2 separate regions of the Homo sapiens genome follow, and region 1 is linked to region 2. The links are contacts of gene promoters, found by promoter capture Hi-C in blood cells and fetal thymus (Javierre and others, 2016). All regions are on one chromosome and are shown on one strand. Each heading gives the region's core, a stretch centred on a gene start or on the middle of the fragment in contact. The rest is flanking DNA. Distances are from core to core; before and after follow the strand shown.

Evidence for each region. Contacts are between HindIII fragments. The CHiCAGO score rates a contact against its expected background, and 5 or more counts as called.
Region 1: a contact is called between a fragment that was not itself captured here and the fragment with the promoter of HSD17B3 in region 2, in 1 of 17 cell types (total CD8 T cells). The highest score is 5.8, in total CD8 T cells.

What each region holds. Positions count from the first base shown.
Region 1 is chr9:94,696,593-94,700,491 of GRCh38, reverse strand. LOC107987101 (a long non-coding RNA gene) reads left to right here and starts at 333. Exons shown (of 4, transcript XR_001746846.1): 1 at 333-551. The HindIII fragment of the contact is 242 bases long and covers 2,322-2,563 here.
Region 2 is chr9:96,300,804-96,304,955 of GRCh38, reverse strand. It overlaps HSD17B3 (hydroxysteroid 17-beta dehydrogenase 3), which reads left to right and starts at 2,780. Exons shown (of 11, transcript NM_000197.2): 1 at 2,780-3,005. The coding sequence starts at 2,852. SLC35D2-HSD17B3 (SLC35D2-HSD17B3 readthrough) reads left to right here. Exons shown (of 26, transcript NR_182427.1): 16 at 2,645-3,005. The HindIII fragment of the contact is 6,593 bases long and covers 1,058-4,152 here.

The DNA.
Region 1 (3,899 bases), core at 1,193-3,692, 1.6 Mb after region 2:
TAGGTTGATACTGACTACGTAGTCAGTGTCAGTAGAGGTTAGTTCATACCTTTACAATTATATGGCTTGATAAGCTGGTCTTGACTGTCACATAAACCTACCTACCTTTGTCTTATTATTACCTCTAGTAAACATGTGTCACTCTTTGGCCACCCAAGGGCCATTCTCCCTTCCTAACACTACTTACAGATTCCTTCAGGAAATCTATCCTTTCTCATTCTAGCCCTGTGGCTTGGGAGGGATTCACCCACCTCTCCTGCTCTACGGGTGGACTGTGGTTGGCTTAAACCAATCAGCTTTTCCCATGTACTTACTTACATCCTCCACTGATTCCCAGATAAATCAGTAACCCATTCAGATCCATGAAGACACAGGAGCCATTTGAAGCCTCTGGGAAAGACAAGCTTCCTCCTCTTCCAGAGATGCTACCAGGAAAGAGGCTTGCTCTTCCTCCAGAAGGTATAGGGAGATCTGAGGCCTGGAGTTACTGCAGCCATTTTCTGCCACACATGGAGAGCCAGGAGCTGCCTAGAAGAGGATGGGGATGGCAGGTAGGGACAATGTGGTATCTAAGGATGAAGCTGAGGCAGAGAGGAACTAGTGTCCGGGAGTTCTTGTTTGGATTGCTAGATCAAACCTTACCTGAGGCCAATATCTGTCTGTAGAGATTTCTATTGTGTAAGCCAAGAAACTTCCTTTGTTGTTTAAGCCAGGTCAAATTGGCTTCTCTGCTGCTTATGATAAAATAGCCTTAAATGGGCCGGGTGCGGTGGCTCACGCCTGTAATCTCAGCACATTGGGAGGCTGAGGTGGGCGGATCACGAGGTCAGGAGATCGAGACCTTCCTGGCTAACATGGTGAAACCCCGTCTCCACAAAAAATACAAAAAAAAAAAATTAGCCAAATGTGGTGGCGGACGCCTGTAGTCCCAACTACTTGGGAGTCTGAGGCAGGAGAATGGCGTGAACCTGGGAGGCGGAGCTTGCAGTGAGCCGAGATCGCGCCACTGCACTCCAGCCTGGGTGACAGAGCAAGACTCTGCCTCACCAAAAAAAAAAAAAAAAAAAAAATCCCTAAATGATATAAGTCCCTTGTTAAGAACATTCTATGGCTCCCCACTGTCTATAAAAAAAAGTTAATGGACATAAATATCTCCTTGATGGTGGTGATTGCTTCATAGGGGTATACTTATGCCCAAACTTATCGAGATGTATACATTAAGTAGACACAGCTTTTTATATGTCAATCATACCTCAATAAAGTGATTTTGTTTTTTTTTTAAAGACAAGTTTAAATTCCTTAGCTTACCACCTAAGACAGTGTACAAGTGAAACATGGGTAACCTTCTTCTTCTCATCAAACTAGTCTTTAGCTGTTCCCTCTGGCTTGTCCCTTTTCTCTGCTTATCCCTCCTTAAATTTTACATTTTCCACTATCTGAATTTCACATCATTCCTGATCTTTCCAAACAATACTTATCTCTCTTGACCTCTGTTTCCCTTCACATTCTTCTTCCAATTATAATTTAAACTCCTGTCTTTTCTTTGCCCTTTTCGAAGACTGTCATGTATTCTGAATTACTTTAATGTATATTTAACCTGTCTTCTTGAGAACAGGTCTTACAGGCTTCTGATCAATGTCTAGCTCATAGCATCTAGAACTATGCCTTATACATAGTAGGTATTAGAAACACATGCTGAGTAGTTGGCAATAGTAGTGTTTTTTGATCAATGTCAACACAAATGCTTATGTCTGGTTAAGGATCAGGACTCAGAGACTACCTAGACACATGCAAACAACAAACCAGAGGGGATCGACTAAATAGTTTTCACTTGAGAAGGCAATGGGCTACTCCACTATAAGAAAACCATCTGTATGAAAGAATCTTGGTGAGTGGACTGTAATCTAACTCTTCAAATCCCAGGGCTCATGGAAAAAAATGAAGTAAACTTATTTGACTAATATATCTCTATTGTGAAAGCACACTGGAGCTTGCTTAATCATAAGCAGGTATCAAGTGGCCATATAATATAGCCCTGTGATTCAAGAGCTGCCTGTGGCCAAACAGGCCTGCCAAGAAGCTGTGCAATTTGGTGGTCCCAATTCCCAGTTCTATGTAAAGCCTCTGGGTGACTGGCCAATCAAGAGGCCCATAGACCAAGTAGCCTGCAGAGCAGCTATGCAGAGCCTTCATGCCATCATTTCCCGCATCACTTCCCGCCTACCTTCCCTCTGGCTTCACAGAGTCTGTTTACAAAGAGAAGTGAATGCCCATATTCTGCTTGGCCTGCAGTGTAGGTGTTATTGTAACTCTTTAAAGCTTTATGACATTCAGTGGTGTACTTCCCTCGCATTCCTGAGTGACCCATGTCACGGTGGAAACAGGCTGTCCTTAGCATTTCACAGGCTGCACACTTAATGACATCATTCTGTGAGATGAAGGGAGAGCTCTAAGAAAAACCTAATTTGGCCTGCTGCAGCAACAGTTGCCTTAATTAGTCTCGATTTTTAATGCAATAAAAGGAATCAAGGTAAAGGTGGCTGGCCAGGAAAATTAATAAGCTTTCAGGTACACTTGGTTACTATGATTTTTCTGTTAGTAGAAAACGTTAAGCTGCTGTTTTGCTCTCTGTCTTGAGAACACAGGTTACAAGAAAAAAGAAAGGTACACACAGACATTGTTAAAAAGGCATTAGTCCGGGCAGGGTGGCTCATGCCTGTAATCCCAGCACTTTGGGAGCCCAAGGTGGGCGGATCACGAGGTCAGTAGTTCGACACCAGCCTGGCCAACATGGTGAAACCCTGTCTCTACTAAAAATACAAAAATTAGCTGGTCATGATGGCGGGTGCCTGTAATCCCAGCTACTCAGGAGGCTGAGGCAGGAGAATCATTTCAACCCCGGAGGGGGAGGTTGCAGTGAGCCAAGATCATGCCATTGCACTCCAGCCTGGGCAACAGGGTGAGACTCCATCTCAAAAAAAAAACAAAAAAAAAAAGCATTAAGATGAACTATCTGGTACTATCTGCCATCTTGGCATCTTATTCATTCCAGAGGGCATAAGCTCTTTTTCTCTGAATTGGTTCTTTCCCCTCCTTGCTAAGAGCCTTATAATATTATGAAACACAAAAATGTAATATGGAGCTGGACTGGGTTCACTCCTCACTATAGAGCTGCATTAACTACATTGGCATCCCTCTTAAGCAATCTTTAAGCAAAGAGGCATTTGGGACATCAGTAGAAGAAGGGACATTTTCCCTGTGCGTGGGCTCTATTCTTCTGAGTAAATAGATGCTTTAAAACCAGCCAAGTCTCCATTTGGTGCATCTGAGTAGGAGTTTGATATTTGCACTGAGAAATATTGAATTCCTAGAACACCAAGAGGTGATTCAAGAATTTTCTTTCAAGCCAGTTAGACTTTAAATAAAAATTATTTACATATTCATGAGCAGATATATTTCTCTAGTGTGTGCTAAGCATGAAAAAAAGAGCATCAACCATCAAGTTTACCTTTGCTATGGGCATGTCTTGTGATACACCAGAAACTTAGGTGATACAGTTTTGAAAAAAAAAAAGGATTCCATGTAAGATCCTCAGGAGGAATAACTACCCCGATCTTTCACACCTGTGGAGTTAGACCAACCATAGCCCTGATAAGGTCTCTGACGTGTTGTGATCTATGAATTGAAGTCCATGCTGGAAGTTATCAAATCACTTGCTAGTTAGGGGGCCTGGCCAGCCACCAGCATTCACATTCAAAGCAACTTTATCGCCCTCTTCCTCAGATAAGACAACTCTTACAACTTGTTAAAGACATTCCTCTAGAAAAATGGCAACGTCTCTCCTCCCCCAGCTCTCACCTCCAAAAAGGCAACGAATACTACCCATGGAAATGAAAGCA
Region 2 (4,152 bases), core at 1,531-4,030:
AGCAGCAATACAGAGAGGTAAATTGAGCACTGAAGCCACATAAGCCCTGCATTTGCTGGACGGGGTGATGGGGAGCTTCAGTGGTGATGGTATGGGACAGAAATGAAGGTCAGGAAGAGTCTAATAGATGAACATTCCATAAGGCCGGGGTCCCAAAAGGTTTCTACATCCTCAGGGTAACCGTGGTCCAGAAGAAACATGCTCCCGGACTACAAGGAAATGCACCTTGGCACTGAGCAGAGGAGGTGGTGGTGGGTGGAGATGGCCAGAGAACCGTCCTATGGGTTTATCAACACAGGCCAGGGTGGGGTGTCATGGCAGACCAAATTCACTTCACCTGCATGGTTTAGAAAACTATGAATTTAGCCATGAATTTAATTTTCCAAATTGGAAGTTCCTCTAGGTATCTGGTAGAAGCAAAACCACCTCCTCTATGGAGGAATACAGCTTCATCAGAAAACCTCACAGAGAAATTTCCAAGCAAAATGGGATGTGCACAGGTGAAAATTATCAAGCACACAAGGAAACAGGGCACCATGAGTGAGACCTACCAGAGAGAGGAGACAGCAACAGAAAGGCTGATGTAGGTACTGGAATTGTTAAAGCCAGATCATAAGACAATTATGCTGAGGTAAAGAAAGTCAAAATTAAAAATATCTGCATGGAGCAGAGAACCATAAGAAGAAAAGCCTCAGTTTTGCAAAAAAGAAAAGGAACTTTTAGAAATGAAGTTAAGGTCATTAAAATAAAAACCACAATGGGCTGACTTAACAATGATCAGACACACCTGAAGAGATAATCAATGACCATGAAGGACAGAGTGAGCAGGTCGAATTTCTGACTAATCAGAGTCCTGAAACCATCTCTAAATACAGAGAAGGGAAAGACCAAAAACCACATAGAAAAACGGGCAGGAGAGAGAAAATTCACAAAGAAAACAGTGAAAATAGCTCTTAGGCTTAAGAAAATCTCTCCAACCTGGCTGATAAGATAATTTAAACTTAAAACAACATTGGATGCTACTTCTTACCTACTGGGTGGCAAAAGTCCCAAAGCTTGACAACATGCTTTACTGCTAAGGCAGTGGGAAAACGAACATGCTCACGTGTTGTTGGCGTGAATGCAAAATGAAGGCAAATCTGACAATATCTAGCATAAAGACGTATGAATCTATGTTCTGGCCAGCAATTCTGCTTCTAGGGTGAGCGCAAGGCTGTTGATTGCAGCACAGAGTGAGCTGAGAGTGAGCACAGGCAGAAATGAGAGAAGGCCAAGGACTGATCCTGTGGCCTCTGCAGGGATGACTTCAGTATCCTGGCTGCCCTTGCTTCAGTTGTCACACCCACCCTCCATCCCACCCCCAGAAGGACATCTTCCCTCAGCATCCAGTGGCCTTTTAAAAGCATAATTCAGAGTATAGAACTCTGTTTCCTAAATCTGTGCAATGGCTTCTGGTTGCTCTGAAAGTCCACACTCACCCGTAGGGCATGGCTCCTCCCTCCTGCTCTGGCCTTTTCCTCCCTTACTCTCTGTGGCCAGTCCCTCTGCTGTGTTGTCCTAGTGTTTTTTTTTTTTTTGAGATGGAGTCTTGCTCTGTCGCCCAGACTGGAGTGCAGTGGCACAATCTCAGCTCACTGCAACTTCCACCTCCCAGGTTCAAGCGATTCTCCTGCCTCAGCCTCCGAAGTAGTTAAGATTACAGGCATGCTCCACCACACCCAGCTAATTATTGTATTTTTAGTAGGTCTCAATCTCCTGACCTTGTGATCCGCCTGCCTCGGCCTCCCAAAGTGCTGGGATTACAGGCGTGAGCCACCATGCCTGTCCTGTCCTAGTTCTTATTCCTCAAATACGTGGATTTTTCTCACTTCAGGCATTGTACTAGCCGTTCCATTAGCCTGGAGGGGGAAACTCATCTTTGCGGAGCTGGCTCCTTTTCATTCAAATTTCAACTAAAAATGCCACCTCTTCATGGAATTCCTTCCTGAACACCCTCTCTGAAGCATTCCCTGAGTAGCTACTCAAACACATCATTCAATAGTGCTTTTTCATAGCACTGATGTTATCTTTTTTTTTTTTTTGAGACAGAATCTCACTCTGTCACCCAGGCTGGAGTGCAATGGCGTGATCTTGGCTCACTGCAACCTCCGCCTCCCAAGTTCAAGTGATTCTCCTGCCTCAGCCTCCCAAGTAGCTGGGATTACAGGTGCCCACCACCAGGCCTGGCTAATTTTTGTATTTTAAGTAGAGATGAGGTTTCACCATGTTGGCCAGGCTGGTCTTGAACTCTTGACTTCATGTGACCCGCCTGCCTTGGCTTCCCAAAATGTTGGGATTATGGGCGTGAGCCACTGCCCCATCTGATGTTATCTTATTTATCTGCTCATCATCTGTCCCTGCTACCAGAATCTAAGCTCCAAACCAGAGAGACCCTCTGTGGTCACTATTAACTTCCTAATGCCTTCAAGAGGGGACTCCACCTGGTAGGCAGTCAATACATAGTGCTAAATGTATGAATAATTGCCTTGGATTCTGCATCCTTTTTAACTTTCCCAAATTCAGGGAGAGAACTGTGGGCTGCCATTTTATATTTGTCCAGGCTTTGTTTTTTTCCCTTCATGTCCACCTTTTACTTTTTCACCAGCTCCTCCACAGTAACAAAAGCCTTATTCAAAGGCCTGTGAGTCAGAGGATTATGTAAAGAAGTTACTTTAATCTAGATGCCCCTGACTTGATGGAACACGTCCAGTGACTCCTGGAAGAAGATCTGGAGGTCTCCAGAGCAGCGTGGTCCCAGGAGGCATACACAGAGAGCCACGGCCAGGGCTGAAACAGTCTGTTGAGTGCAGCCATGGGGGACGTCCTGGAACAGTTCTTCATCCTCACAGGGCTGCTGGTGTGCCTGGCCTGCCTGGCGAAGTGCGTGAGATTCTCCAGATGTGTTTTACTGAACTACTGGAAAGTTTTGCCAAAGTCTTTCTTGCGGTCAATGGGACAGTGGGCAGGTAAGGGAGTGTTCCATCTCATGTTTTTTTGCTGCTGTTGTTCCTGCTTGTTACTATTATTATTATTTTTGAGACAGACACTTGCTCTGTCACCCAGGCTGGAGTGCAATGGCGCGATCTTGGCTCACTGCAACCTCCGCTTCCCGGGTTTAAGCAATTCTCCTGCCTCAGCCTCCCAAGTAGCTGGGATTATAGGCGCCTGTCACCACACCTGGCTAATGGTGTTTTTTTTTTTTTTTTGAGACAGAGTCTCACTCTGTTGCCCGGGCTGGAGTGCAGTAGTGCGATCTCTGCTCACTGCAACCTCTGCCTCCTGGGTTCAAGCAATTCTCCTGCCTCGGCCTCCCAAGTAGCTGGGATTACAGGCACACACTACTACGGCTGGCTAATTTTTTGTATTTTAGTAGAGACAGGGTTCCCCCATGTTGGCCAGGCTGGTCTCGAACTCCTGACCTCATGATTTGCCCACTTTAGCCTCTCAAAGTGCTGAGATTACAGGCGTGAGCCACCGCACCCAGCCAACGTTTTGTATTTTTAGTAGAGACAGGGTTTCACCCTGTTGGCTAGGCTGGTCTCAAACTCTTGACCTTGTGATTCACCCGACTCGGCCTCCCCAACGGCTGGGATGACAGGCGTGAGCCACCGCACCCAGCCCCTGCTTATTATTATTTATGTCTCAAAAGGGATATTGCATTTTTTTCTCTTTGAGAGCAAAGAAGTAATTCCTTTGGGTAATTTTAATTGGGGGGATTAGAAAAGTGTGAGTGAAATTAGAATGGTCTGCAACACAAGCTGTAGGGCATTAGGGGAACACTAGGGCAGAAGGCTACCCAGCCCTTGCTAAGCACTTATCCTCTCAACCCCATTAGATGAGTTTTCTTCTTTTGGGAGTTTCCTGCTAATACAAATAATAAATAATGCAGAAATTTCTGCATCCTCATCTCTAAATTTACAAAAAGCCCAGGGTGCTTTCACTTTACTAAAAGGTGTTTCCAAATTTTGAAATCTAAATAATTTTAACTCATTGTATTAAAAAAAGGATCCAAGTGTTTTTAAGAAATGAAGGTGTTACAAAATCAAGGCAACGCATAACTCTATGGAGCCATGTTTTCAGGATGGTATGGAATGGAATCTGGGTCTGGCTGGT